2 separate regions of the Homo sapiens genome follow, and region 2 is linked to region 1. The links are contacts of gene promoters, found by promoter capture Hi-C in blood cells and fetal thymus (Javierre and others, 2016). All regions are on one chromosome and are shown on one strand. Each heading gives the region's core, a stretch centred on a gene start or on the middle of the fragment in contact. The rest is flanking DNA. Distances are from core to core; before and after follow the strand shown.

Region 1 (7,379 bases), core at 1,943-4,442:
CCATGGGCGCATTTCAGCTCAGCTCACAAACATGTTTTTCAAGGTTAGCTGAATATTTGCGTCTTGGGAAATGAGCACTACGCTAATTGTGGAAGTAGCACTGGGCTGGGAGACAGCCAAGCCTGGTCGCCCGTGTTACCAGGAAGAGCCTGCCCTGCCTTTCCCCAACCCATCTTCTTGATTTCCAGGGCTTGGGGTCCCTTGGCTATGGAAAGCCTGAGGCTCCAGGAGAACCATGCCTCAGGGTGTCCCCCTTTGCACCAACTCACACAGCAATCAGACCAGGTCCTTGCAATCATAGGCGCAGTTTTGACTGGGAGGGAGGACTTGGCATGCCACTTGAGAAATATTAGCAACCAAAAATTCATGCCCACTGTTCTTCCATAGTGGAAGATCTTCTTCCAGAGATCCCACTGGAATCTTCCATAATGACAAAATGCAAACAACGCTGAGAGCACAGATATGTTCATTGCAGTATTGTGTGTGACAGCAAAGGATTGGGTACCTCCCAGGGTCCATCCAGGGAGGATGGGTATACAAATGATGGGGCACTTGTGTGACATACTGTCACGCTGTTTCTAAAGACCAATGGTAAAAGTTTGGTACAGTGTCAGAAAGTTCTTGTGATATAATGTGTAACATAAAATAGAGAGAGACAGAGAATAGCAGGTCAGTATCTAAAATGTGTTTCTGTCAAATTTTGCATAAGGTGAGAACTGGATGGGAACATCTTACAGATTGTTTTGGTCCACACAGATTTTCTGTCCCAATATTTTCTTACATGAGGGCAGTAGAAAAGGTCCGAAGAGGACTCAGTCTCAGCCCCAGAGCAAGGGGTTCACCATCTCTGGGAGCTGCCAGGAGCAGCAGCGTCAGCCCTAGAGGAGCTAAATGGTATCTTTCTAAACCCGAGAAACCATGTGCAGCATGAAGCTCAAAAAGGCTGAGTGTGGACCCAGAAACCGAACCAAATTTTAGGGAGCAGGAGGCTAGTCAGAGCAAGGGCAGAACTTGGGGGGCTGTTCTAGGGGGAACAGGCGGGACAGGGGGCCGCCTGAAAGACTCGGAACATGCAGCTCCCTCCAAGTGGTCCTTCAAGGGATCTCCCAGCTTGGTTCCCTGTCTTTGGGATGGGCCATTTGGTTTTAAGATACAGAAACTCCTTCAAGCCATGTCAACAAAGAGAACATTTAATAGACGGAAACTGGGGACTCCATGGAGCCCACCCACAGGAGGCACAGGAAACCCTGAGGCATCGGGGGTCTCCTCCTGTCTCTGGAGCCACTGGGTCTCCACCTCTGCAGCTTGTCCACCTCTCCTTTTCTCTCCCACCACCGCTTGGTCTGTGTCCCCACGAAAGGTCCATGTTCAGGGTTGCCACCCTGCCTTGACCTCAGTTCTAAAAGACGATGGCTCATTCCCACATTTCTGCCTGCAGTTCCCAAGTCCCTCCAAGTCCAAGGAAAAGAAAGGAATCTGATTGGCTCTAGTTGGGCCAACTGTAAGGATGACCAGACCCCTTTTTTACCCAACACAAGGCCTGTGGCTGACCAGGTAACTACCTGCCCCTATTATCCACCCGCCTTCAAAGCCTTGCATAAATGAGCTCCCCTCGCCCTCCTGCTCACTTCCAGGGACTGCCTGGCCCCTCCAGTCTGACCCCACCCAGGGCCCACTGCGGTTGCACTTCCCTTCTAAACAGTCTGTATTTGCCTTAAGCCCAAATCCCCCTTGATCAAGTGCCAGCCCAAGCCTGCCCAATTTGTTGCCAGGTACCCTCCTGGGAACCTTGTTGTCTGATGGCCTTTGTCTCTAAGGCTTCCTGATGGCCCCAGACATGTCCCAGGTGTATGCTCCTTTCACACTCAACACAGAACACTCTCTTGACCAGGTGTCCAAGCAGTTCTCCAGCAGACTCCGTCTGGATGTCCTATAATTCAATTCAATCAGACACTGTCAACCTGGAGTCATAGATCCCACAGGTTAAGGGCTCAGTCCCACAAAACTGCCCCACTTCAAATGCAGTCTCAAGTCCTAGGTTGCCACCTATACTTCTGACCAATTGGCTATAAATCGGGGTTCCCATGCCCCACACCTGAGGTTGGATTTGCTAGCATAGCTCATGGAACTCAGGACGGCACTCATATTGACCAGTTCGTGGGAAAAGATTTTACAAAGGATTACAGATGAGCAGCCGAATAAACACGCACAGGTGAGTTGTGTGGGAAGGTCATGGAGCTTCCATGCCCTCTCCCGCATGCCACCCCCCAGGGACCTCAGATGTGTGGAAGCTTGTCAAATCTTGTTCAAGAGTTTTACCTTCCCAGAGGTCAGTAGGCGGGGCTGAAAGTTCCAACCCTCTATTCACTAGGTCTTTCTGGTGACTGACCCCATGCTGAGGCTAGGTAGGGCCCCCACATGGTCACCTCCTCAGCATAACTTCAGGTGTTATCAAACGGACTCATTATGAGATGATCACTTGGGAAATTTTTTGTTTGTTTGTTTGTTTGAGACGGAGTCTCGCTCTGTCACCCAGGCTGGAGTGCAGTGGCCCGATCTTGGCTCACTGCAAGCTCCACCTCCCCGGTTCACGCCATTCTCCTTCCTCAACCTCCAGCTGGGACTACAGGCGCCCGCCACCACGCCCAGCTAATTTTTTTGTGTGTGTGTTTTTAGTAGAGATGGGGTTTCACCGTGTTAGCCAGGATGGTCTTGATCTCCTGACCTTGTGATCCGCCTGCCTCGGCCTCCCAAAATGCTGGGATTACAGGCGTGAGCCACCATGCCCGACGATCACTTTGGAAATTCTAAGGGTTTTAGGAGTTCTGTGACACCAACCGGGAACAAGGACCAAATATACTGTATTTTATATTATACTACCACCCTCAATTAGAGCTTGGGGTGCTTGGGGGCAGAGCTCCTGCCATGCAGCACCTGGGAAGATGCTGAGCCCCCGGATGGTCAGCTGACTGTCACCATGGGATCTGGCTGGTGGCCAGAGCAGGTGCACAGACTGCAAACCCTGGTGGCCTCCGGGCAGCATGCATCGCTGCTCTGCAGAAGGGGCCTGGGTTAAAGAGCAGGTATCATGAGGCTCTGCCAGCTGGGGCTGAGGGAGGCGTGTGGGAGTGGAAGTGCCTGGAGCCCAGGGACAAAGTCCTGTAATAAATTACGTGGGCCCAGAGTGCTCCCAGTCATTTCCTCTTGGAGCCCTACCTCTTCTTCCTCTGTCCCTTACTCCCTGACACACCCGGAGTCCCAACATTGCCTCCTTTCCTGGCTCTTTCAGGGTGCCCAGGGTGGAGGGGAAGGGGAGTCAGCCAGACCCCCATCCTGACAAGGTAAGGGCGTGCCGGGGGCGTGTCTGCCAGCGGGGAGTAGGGGGTCACCTCTCTGAAGAGGGTCGCTGGGCAGGAGGCAGGTCCCCTGGAAATAAGATGGAACAGGTCTGAGGGATAGAGAGTGGAGAAGCCCTTCAGGAGCCTGGAAACCAGAAACCGCAGCAGGGGACTCAGTCCATCGGGCTGAAGGGCAGCACCTGGGGGGCTGAGGAGGAGGAGGAGGGGGAGAAGCTGTCTAGCCCTCTGCTGTAGAAGGGCAAACTCCCTGCAGGAGGGGAACGGCAGGTGCCAAGGCTGCTCCCACCCTGAAGCCTCCTCACAGCTAGAGGGCCTCACTGTGGAATCATGGGACATCATGGATAGCCTGGGTCCCATGATGAGCCCCTGCCAGATGTCAGCTGTGCCGTGTGTGACATCCCACTGCGTCCTCGCAACACAGTGGTGGAATTGCCTCCATTTTATGGACACAGAGACTGAGGACCATGGAAGCGAAGGTGCCCACGGGAAGAAGCAGAGCCGGATTCGACTCCAAAGCCCAGGCTTATCCGCCTTACCCATGTACCTTGGGCAATTGGCTTTAGTCACCTCTGGAAGGCTGGGACCCTAGGGAGAGGCAGGACAGGTCTGGGGTGTGGTGGGGGGGGGGGTGGGGGAAGAGGTGGCTGAGGAGAGGGACCGCACCGGGGCTCACATGGGCTGTCCCCCTTGAGCTGTCCAGGTGGTGTGTGTCCCATCCCCATTTCACAGAGGACGAAACTTGAGACACAGAGATTGTGAGAGCTGGCCCAGGTCAGACAGCTGGTGGGTGTGGGGCCCCCAACCCAGATCCCCCAAATTCTCCATGACGAGGCCTCCCCTTCAGGCTCCACTTTGTAACCCTGGACTTGAATTTTGCTCTAATTTATCAGAACCCTGCACTTTGTTTAGGATTTTAGTTCAGAGATTCACACACACCCTCAGTGAATCATTGTTAGGAACCACTCAGCTCATCAGCCCACCCCATCTCCCTGGACCTGCTGGGGGCCCTACGTCTGTCCTCAGATGCCACCTCTAAGAGAATCCTCCCCAGGCGGCTGTCTTGGGGCCTGCTGCATCCACAGCTCTAGCACGGGGCTCTGTGGAGAGGCGGCACCACAGGGATGACCTATATGTGTTGATATTGCTTCCTGTTTTACATATGTCAAAAGACAAAATTATAAAAAATTTATCTTAAAGATCTTAATTGGCTTTTATTTGCAATTCTAGAATTGGGCAACACCCCACTTATAGAATACAATGAATGATCTGATGAGCCGAGCAGAGGAGTTTGGCTTTATAGACAGAATGGGGCTGAGAGAAACAGAAAACAAAAGGGGATTAGTCATTTCAATTTATTTTCCTTGTAAAGGATAGAGCTGAGGGAACTTCCTTATCATGCCCGCTGAAACTGGCCTGTCTGGGGCTCCAGCTATTGTCTCTCTCCTGATTCTTGGAAGGTCAGATAACCTTCGTTTGGGCCTGGTGGTGTGGAACTTCAGCATGAGTGACTCCATTTTGGTCTGGTCTGTTGGCCTTGTGTAGGAGCTCAGACAAAACCAATGGCCTCCATACATTTTACTTAACACATGTATTTAAATGATGTTTGTGTGCCCATTCTTGGTCCACATACCAAGCTGTTCAGGGAGGAAGAGCCAGAATCTTAGCACATTTTTCACAGAAGAGATGAAGAAGGGTAAAGGAGACTGGGCATGGTGGTGGCTCATGCCTGTAATCCCAGCACTTTGGGAGGCCGAGGTGGGAGGATTGCTTGAGCCCACAACATGGGGAGACTCCATCTCTATAGAAGAATAAGAAGAAGGAATAGGAGGAGGAGGAAGAAGAAGAGGAGGAGGAGGAGGGGGAGGAGAAGGAGAAGGAGGAGGAGGAGAAGGAAGGATTTGACCAAGGCCACTGGACTATGAGCTCCTCGAGAGCCTGGGCTGGGTTTCTCTGGGGTTTTTCCATCTCCTGCACATGCCCAGGCCTCAGCAGAGAATGGACACTTGGCACATGCTGAATGAATGAATGGAGTAGCTAGCGGCAGAAGACGAGCTCAGGATGAAGTCAAGTTTTCAAATCCAGTGTCATTGTAGACTCTGTTGTCTGCCTTTCCAGCAGTGTGTAGTGTGTTCCTTCACTGCCAGCTGGGGAGGCGAGGCTGCGAAGGAAAAGTGACCCATGTACACCAGAGGCACAGACCTCCGGCATTGAGTGGTCAGAGGAGGCGGTCCTGGGGCTGAGGACAGGTAGGGGTGGGAAGGGATGCAGCAGGCTGTGAGGGGAGGATGGTGTGAGGATGAGGGTGGGGAACGGGGGATGTTCCAGGTGGAGGAAGTGGTAGCTGCAAAGATACAGAGCAAAGGAAGTACCAGTAAGGCTTGGGCACTGTTGGCGCCTGGCAGGGATGAAATACGGTTGAGGGGGGTGGTAAGATATGCTCTAGAACGTTCCATGATGATAGAAATGTTCTCTTCTGCACTGTCCAAAACAGTAGCCACTAGCCACAAGTGGCTGTTGAGCACTTGAAGTGTGGCTAGTGCAACTGAGGGTCTGAATTTTTAATTCAGCTCATTTAAATTTAAATAGCCACATGTGGCTAGTGGCTACCATATCGGACAGTGCAACCTAGAGGGTCTTGCTCATCAGGTTAAGAGAGAGGTGAAGTGGAATAAGCAAACGCTTTGGAGCCAAACATTTGCAGATTCAAATCTTGTTTCTTTCTTTTTTTTTTTTTGAGATGGAGTCTGGCTCTGTTGCCCAGGCTGGAGGGCAATGGCATGATCTCGGCTCACTGCAACCTCCACCTCCCAGGTTCAAGCAATTCTTCCCCCTCAGCCTCCCGAGTAGCTGGGATTACAGGCGCACACCACCACGCCCGGCTAATTTTTGTATTTTTGTAGAGATGGGGTTTCACCATGTTGACCAGGCTGGTCTTGAAATCCTGACCTCATGTGATTCACCTTCCTCAGCCTCCCAAAGTGCTGGGATTACAGGCGTGAGCCACTGCACCAGGCTCTGCAGAAATCTTGAGTCAAGAAATCTTGACTCAGTCACCTACCAAATGTGGGGCCTTAAGCCTCAGTTCCCTCTTCTATCAAATGGAGTAGCATCACTTACCTTGCAGGGTTGTTTTACAGATCAAACTAATGAGCAGGTGCTGGAAAACTTTCAGCACAGTGTCTGTCTGAGCTCCTACTCTGTTCTGGGGGCTGGGGGCAGAGTACTGAGGGTATGAAAAGGAACCACAGGGCAGTGGTTCATGCACAAGTATATGTATCTGTCAATTTCTCTTTCATCCCTTGCCTGCCTTATTCAAATACTAAACAAAACAGAGTGATATGAGGCAGCTTACAGTATACCTATAATACAACAGAATCAAAAATAAAATAAGCTGGGACGTAGGATAAATGAAGGTAGGAAAATACACTGCAGCTGGGAAAATGTTAGTAAACAAAATGTACATCAGAAAATCCCATATATTTGCTAGGCATAGACACAAAATTTGTTCTGAACTTCCAGATAGTCACGCACAAAACTATGCAGTAAAGATTAATAATGTTCTCAAGTTAGGCAAAAGCCAGTTTCCAAGGGGAAGACCAGCTTTCCTGTTGCAATGTCATGAAGGGGATAAAAAGGGAGAAAACGACATTGGCTATAACAGGAAATTCAGGAGAGTTTTTAAAGAGCTATTTGTAGAAAAGGAAGGAAGATTTCTCAGGGACTATCTCTACATGAGGGAGGGCACCTCACGGGCTATCTCAGCATGAAGGGGGCTTCTCAAGGACTATCATAAAAAGGAATGAATAAGGACTTCCTTGAGGGCTATTTCTTTTAAAAAAAAAAACTCCATAGTTTTTAAGGTACAGGTGTTTTTTGGTTACATGGATAAGTTCTTCAGTGGTGATTTGTGAGATTTTTTTGCACCTATCACCACAGCAGTGTACACTGCACCCAATGTGTAGTCTTTTGTTGCTCACCCAGCTCCAGCCTTCCCCCGAAAGTCCCCAAAGTCCATTGTAT
Region 2 (7,379 bases), core at 3,531-6,030, 190 kb after region 1:
TTTCGTAATTCACTCCCCCAAGCAACCTGAACTTTCCTCACACCATCTCTCAAGCACGAGCTCAGCGCATGAGCAATAAAAATTGGCTAACAAAAACAGAATCCTCAAAGAAGGAGAATTTCTACAGAAATGCTCCCCCCTGCAAATACTTTTATATGTGAGCTGAAAACAACTTGAGCAGAGTTTCATCCAAAGGGTCACCATTTCCAGAATGCTCAATTCTGGAATAACAGTCTCTTTATTTCTATTCACTGTAATAAACAGAGTGAGGTACAGAGTCTATAGTATACTCATGAGTTAAATATCCCATCCTATCTTTTAAAAGTAGAGTTGGCAGACAGGAAGTGATTCTGTGGCTGGCAGGCCCATGGAACACCAGGCTGCAATGTAAAGGGCCCAGAAAGGAGGCATGACAGCCTCAGAGCCGACCACCATGTAAAACATGCTTCCTCCTCAGGGCCACAGCTCTCCTGGAGCCCTGGGACAATTATCAGCTGTACTCAAATGAGAGTTGACCTTTTCTGAAGAAACTCTATTACCAAAAAAAGAAAAATGGTGAGAAGTAAAAATGAATACTGAGATGTACTTAATGGGAGTATAACCTAACTCATCATTCTTATGATTTCATTCTTCAGCCAGGATGCTAGTATCTTAAGCTACTGTCACTACTTGATAAGTATTTATATCCAGCTGTGACCATTTTCCACAATACTCAGCAGTATTACTTCTGTGCAGAGTGTATTTTCCCAATGTGCCCGTGAGTTGGAAATGAATAATACCTGGTTGAAGGGGGCCCGGGGCCCATCACCTAGCAGAGGCGTTTTCTGTTGCTGGAATGGTATTGGCCCTTGAGATGGATGTGGCCCTCTTGCTGGGTTCTGCTGTCCCTGAGGTCCGGGGGGTCCTTGCATGCCACCCTGGGGTGGAGGTCCTAAAGAGCCCTGGGGCGGCCCCTGCTGACTTTGTGAGCCTGGAGGCCCTCGCAATTCCTGGGGAGGTCCCAGCATTGATCCTTGGGGTGGAGGCCCCTGCATGCCTCGGATCTCCTGAGGACCTCTCATTTCCTGAGGGCCGTGTCCCAGTAGTCCACCTGGAGGGTGAGGTCCTCTCATCTCTTGAGGCGGGTGGCCCATAATCATCCCTTGGGGAGCAGGACCCTGGTTCTCCCGGGGGCCTGGAGGCCCCTGCATTCCTCTTGGATTCAATCCCATCAGAGGTCCCTGAGACACAGGACCTTGGATCCCTTGAGACCCTGGTCCGCCTTGGATCCCATGAGGATGAGGAGGCCCTTGCATTCCTCTGGGACCAGGTGGTCCCTGCATACCTTGAGTACCCGGAGGCCCCTGTGGGCCCAAGTGACCCTGAGGGCCAGGCGGGCCTTGGGGGCCTATGTGACCCTGTGGGCCAGGTGGACCCTGAGGACCCATATGACCTTGAGGACCAGAACTACCTTGTGGTCCAGGTGGCCCTTGAGGTCCCAAAGGGCCATGAGGTCCAGGATGCCTCTGCATTCCTTGGGGCCCATGCATGTCCTGAGGCCGTGGCAACCCCTGGGGCGGGCCCTGGGGCCCCTGTGGTCCCATGAATCCTTGTGGCCCCCCACCTCCCTGATGCAGTGGAGGACCTTGTGGTCCCATTTGTCCCTGGGGTCCAGGAGGCCTAAACTGTCCCTGTGGACCTGGAGGCCCCATTTGAGCCATGTTCATTGGCATCTGCTGAGATGGATGGGGCTGTTGAAAACCTTGAGGAATCTGAGACATTGGACCTTGTCCTGGAAAAGGCTGGGGTCCGAGGAGAGGGGTGCCAGATGAGGGAGGAGGCTGAATTTGCTCAACTTGTTTCTGTGCAAGTCTTTCAATTTTAAGTTGCTGGAAAGAAAGAAAGAAAAAAGCATGTTGAATAAACAGGCCAGAGCCCTTGAAGATGACAATATTGCTATCATGTATTCTGTTAGGGGACTCTCAAACATAAAAACTGCTCAAACTCTTCACGCTCCAGTGGTAATTAGAGTCCATGCAACACTCAAGCACTGTAAGGAGTTTTAGGTTCTTTCTCATTCTTTTTAAGTCCTGGGACACAGTAGTAAGGATTTTTTTTTCCTTATTTTTTTTTTCTGTCCCCCAAGCTGGAATGCAGTGGTACGATCGTGGTTCACTACAGCCTCACCCTCCTGGGCTCAAGTGATCCTCCCACCTCGGCCTCCGGAGTAGCTGGGACTACAGGCACATGCCACCACACCCAGCTAATTATTATTTGTAGAGACAGGGTCTTGCTATATTGCCCAGGCTGATCTCAAACTCCTGGGTTCAGCTGATCCTCCCGCCTCGCCTCCCAAAGTGCTGGGATTACAGGCGTGAGCCACTGTGCCTGGCCTAGTCAGGATTATTTTTGTCCATCTTGATCAGGGAAAGCCCAATAATTCACCACTAATTCATCATTCTTGGTAGCTAACATAGATAAGAAAAATAAGAACAAGCTACCTGCTATATGAGCAGACAAAAAGGAAAAACTCTTTCATAAACAGGTGAATTCAAATTAAAACTATGTTGGCTTTATCTTTTCTATTAAAAATGTATATTTAACTTAGATCTACTCACTGCCCCACTAATTCAGTTTTTTTATGTTGTTGTTGTTGTTTTTGAGACAGAGTCTCACTTTGTGGCACAGGCTGGAGTGCAGTGGTACGATCTCGGCTCACTGAAACTTCTGCCTCTGGAGTTCAAGCCATTTTCCTGCCTCAGCCGCCCATGTCACTGGGACCACAGGCATGCACCACCATGCCCAGCTAATTTTTGTATTTTCAGTAGAGGTGGGGTTTCACCATGTTGACCATGCTGGTCTCAAACTCCTGATCTCAGGTGATCTGTCTGCCTCGGCCTCCCAAAGTGCTGGGATTACAGGTGTAAGCCACCACGCCTGACCCTAATTGGGTTTTAAAAGTCCAAGATATGACTCAAGGAAGTCACTTAAAAAAAAATTAGTCAGACGTGATGGTGCATGCCTGTGGTCTCTGCCACTCAAGAGGCTTAATGTGGGAAGATCACTTGAGCCTGGGAGGCAGAGGTTGTAGCAAGCCGTGATCGCACCACTGCATTCCAGCCTGGGTGACAGGGCATGACTCTGTCTCTAAAATAAAATAAATAAAACAAAATACATAAATAACACATTTTAAAAAATTTTAAGAAACAGGATTCTTTTGGAAACTAGTCTTCTAGCATAGCAACAGGAAATGGCGGTGTTTGTCAGACCATGGGAGAGCCCCTTCCCTTTTCCTTAAGAGCCTATCAATAAAAATGTCACCACTACCCTCTTAGATCATCTTGAATTCCCCCCTACAGAGCTTCACACACCTCCAGAAGTTGTGGGTTAGTATATTGTAATGTAGCCATTTCTTGCTCAATTTCTGCTTGTGTTTTTTTCTTCTCTTCCAATTTAATGTCTTCTTTTCTGTCATTCAGCACCTCATTTGGAGCAGGAATTGGAACTTTATTTTGCATCCAAGCCTTGGGAAAGAAGAGAATATTAAAATGTACGCTAAGTATGAAAATTACAATGATAGAATGAGAAAACCACTCTACAATGTCATCTGCTCAATCTAACCTCTGAACCGATTTTATTTCTTTTTACCTTTTCTCCATGACTCAAGTACATGACTCATGCTAATTCTTACTGACATATTACTAGGTAGAAATTACTATGGTGATAAAAGCTGCAAGACACTGCATGTTATTAAGAATGCAAAGCTTGCCAGCCTCTTCACAGGGTACATGCACTTTGTGTTGAGGGGACAATTAAAGCACAAGATAGATAAACAATGGAGAAGAGAAGCAACATACTCCCATACTCCCTCTGCTCCATGCCTCTTTCTTCTATTTCCTCTCATAGCATGGATGATAATAAGCAGGTGAGGACAGAACAGAGAAGACTGATAACAAACTCAATACAACTGCAAAGCAGTAGATGAGAACCATGTCTAAGAGTACGTGAACATGGGAAAAATGCTCCAGTACAGAAACACCTTCAACAGTGAGATAATCCAAGAGAAACCTCAAACTAACCAACCAAAACCTCTCTGCGTGGATGAGGTGGAGTCACTTTTACTTACCTGCTGGAACTGAGCAGGAATGGGTTTTGCATAAGGAACTTTCTTCTGAGGTACTTTTTTCTGATCCTTTTGCATCACTTCCTCCATTCCCCAATCTAAACCTGGAATTGTCATTTCAATTTCATTTGATTCATCTTTCCCTGTAACCGTAAAGAAAAGTGGTTTGCCTCTTAAATAAAAGAAATTGGCCACTTGATCAATGAACACATTATTGGAAGAATAGATTTTAAGTATTATGTCATTTATATAATTTTTATCAACATTTCTCAACATAAATCATTTTGGTATTTCAATATATTTATCAGGAACATAAACGGGTCAAGAAAAAATTTGTAAAAATTAAATGTGTCTGTGTAACTTCTCTTACCCATCTGTTCTTGTTCCATAGCTAATTTTAGTTGTTCTGGTATTCCCATTCCTGGAATTACTGCCAGGCTATTAGGTTCGAGGTCATCTATAAATAGTAATACACCATTGTCAATAGAGAATTTACAAAAGTAGCGACTGATAAAATTAATGCTTTATAAAAATGAATGTCACTGATGATTTATAAATAAATCTACTATAAAATTAAAATTCATTTTGTATAATCTTCCCAACATCTAACACTTCTGTAATAGAATACCAGATTTCAAAGAAGGACAGATGTGCAAGAGTCTCACCATATTCTACTCCATCTTCAGACATTCCAGGTAAAAGGTTTAGATTATATCGATCTCGCATTTTATCACCTGGTCGGTTTCGAGTCCAGAATTTGCTGTAAAAATAATTAAAGGAGAAAAGAAGCATGGCTTCACTATTTTTTTGGGCACTAAACAGTACTAGGCAGACCCTTGGTAAACACAACACATTTTTACAATTTGTTTCTTCTACAAATTTAAAATGTGAGGTCATACACTTTGGCTCACATCTGTAATCCCAGCACTTTGGGAGGCTGTGGCAGGAGGATTAAGTCCAGGAGTCCAAGACCAGCCTGGGCAACATAGCGAAACCCTGTCTCTACAAAATAAAAATTAAAAAGTTAGCTGGGTGTGGTGGCACACACCTGTAGTCTCAGCTACTCACGAGGATAAGGCGGGAAGATGGCTTGAGCCCAGGAGTTTGAGGCTACAGTGAGCTGTGATCTCACCACAGAACTCTAGTCTCGGTGACAGAGTGAGACTCTGTCTCTTAAAATAATAATAAAAATAAAAATAAAATGTGGGGCCGGGCAAGGTGGCTCATGCCTGTAATCCCAGCACCTTGGGAGGCTGAGGCAGGAGGATTGCCTAAGCCCAGGAGTTTGACATCAGCCTGGGCAACATGGTGAAACCCCATCTCTACAAAAAATGCAAAAATTAGCCAGGTGTGGTGGTGTGCTCCTATAGTCTCAGCTACTCAGGAGGCTGAGGTAGGAGGATCACCTGAGCCCAGGAAGGTTGAGGCTATAGTGAGCTGAGACCGCACCATTGCACGCCAGCCTGGACAGAGACCCTGTCTCAAATAAATAAATAAATAAATAAATAAAAGTGGAAAACTTCTGTTTTAAGTCAGAAGGCAAAACAAAATTTGAATAGCCAAAACCATATTCAATACCCAATCTCTTTATTGCAATATAAGTATTTGTAAACCACTACAAAAATATTCCCAAGAATAAGTTGGAATATAAATTACTATATCAATCAACCAATAAAAATAAACACATACAGTATTTATTTCCTGTTGCTCCATATAAAGCTTTGCTATTTCAATATAAAGCTTACCTAGTATGGTCATTTGAGCCTGAGCAGAGAATATGCCCAAGAGGATGCCAAGCCAGACTCCAGATCATCCCTTCGTGAGCCATCTCCATCCCACCCACTTCCTTCTCTACCCTGCAACAGCACCAAAGAGAGAAGATTTGTTCACAAAAGTTACCCAGCTTCTCCCTCCCCCTCAAAAAAGACATTTTCTGTTACTCTTAAAATGAAGCTACCAAAGCCTGGACTTGGACTCTGGTGAATTCCACATGTCTCGGGGTATTGGCTTGTCATTGCCAAAGGACAGTTACCCTTTCATCCAAAGAGCACTTCACAGGGGAAAAGGCTGCAAGCATTTAGAAACTAGAAAATCTATTTTATTCCTCCTTAATGACTTCCATATCCACAAACAGAGGTACATTTTCTATTCCAAGCTGGATTTACAGAACTGAAAACTGCAAGCAGTCTCTGATATAGGATATATGAACACTTAGAAAAGCTACAAAACTATCATGTCTGCACACATTCACGTGCTCTCTTCACAAAATACACTACTTTTTCACATAAATCTTACATACCCAACATGCCAGAATAACAAAGAACCATCAGACCCTCCACTGGCAAAAAGTCCTTCATGAACAGGATGCCAGGCCACAGCTGCAGAACAAAAACATGGGAAAAGACACAATTATCAGGATCTGAGAATGTTACAGGTAACAGTGGTCAATGAGAAGCATATCACAGCCACTGACCTGTGGCTTCTTTCTTATGACCTCGGAAGACTTGAAGCTCTTCTTTTAGGTTTCTGATATCAAAAAGTTTACAGAGATGATCACGTGATGCTGTGAGTAGCCAATTGCCATTGAGGTTTAATTTCACTTCCATTACTGTGTTTTTATGGGCATGACTAGAAACAAAGTATCAAAAAAAAATGTCAGAATTCAAAACAAGTATAAATACAATGGCCATTTTTGTTGAAAAGCGAATTAATCAAGATGGCAAGAGGTTTGGCCTAGAAGCAATAAAGCCTGTAACATTAAAGGATCACAGTTATAAACACACTTGAAAGAAACAAGTCAACGACAGAAATAATATGCACTGCCCAGACAAAGACAGCTCTCATCAACCAGTTAAAAAAGCAGCAGAGGCTGGGCGTGATGGCTCACGCCTGTAATCCCAGCACTTTGGGAAGCCTAGGCGAGTGGATCACCTGAGGTCAGTTCAAGACCAGCCTGGCCAACATGGTGAAACCCAGACTCTACTAAAAATACAAAAATTAGCCAGGCGTGATGGCGCATGCCTGTAGTCCCAGCTACTCAGGAGGCTGAGGCAGGAGAATCACTTGAACCCAGGAGGCAGAGGTTGCAGTGAGCCGAGATTGCACCAATGCACTCTAGTCTGGGTGACAGAGCGAGACTCTGTCTCAAAATAATAATAATAATAATAATAATAATAATAATAATAATAATAATACAGTAGCAGAGCTTCCACTGAACAGTAAAATTTATCCGTGAAGCAGGGGAAGCACATGAACACAGAAATTAATATTCAATAAA

What was found. The method cuts DNA at HindIII sites, captures the fragments that hold promoters and counts their contacts. A CHiCAGO score of 5 or more calls a contact.
Region 2: a fragment that was not itself captured here is called in contact with the fragment with the promoter of MYO7B in region 1 in 1 of 17 cell types (naive B cells); the score reaches 6.0 in naive B cells.

What each region holds. Positions count from the first base shown.
Region 1 is chr2:127,532,491-127,539,869 of GRCh38, forward strand. It overlaps MYO7B (myosin VIIB), which reads left to right and starts at 3,193. Exons shown (of 48, transcript NM_001393586.1): 1 at 3,193-3,341. RefSeq lists an enhancer at 3,225-4,075. The HindIII fragment of the contact is 11,396 bases long and covers 2,290-7,379 here.
Region 2 is chr2:127,718,486-127,725,864 of GRCh38, forward strand. It overlaps WDR33 (WD repeat domain 33), which reads right to left. Exons shown (of 22, transcript NM_018383.5): 9 at 6,576-6,730; 10 at 6,402-6,480; 11 at 5,848-5,958; 12 at 4,768-4,862; 13 at 4,473-4,559; 14 at 4,106-4,245; 15 at 3,351-3,503; 16 at 780-1,868. Among named protein-coding and RNA genes, the nearest start is that of SFT2D3, 21 kb to the left of the region's middle. RefSeq lists an enhancer at 2,878-4,077. The HindIII fragment of the contact is 2,078 bases long and covers 3,742-5,819 here.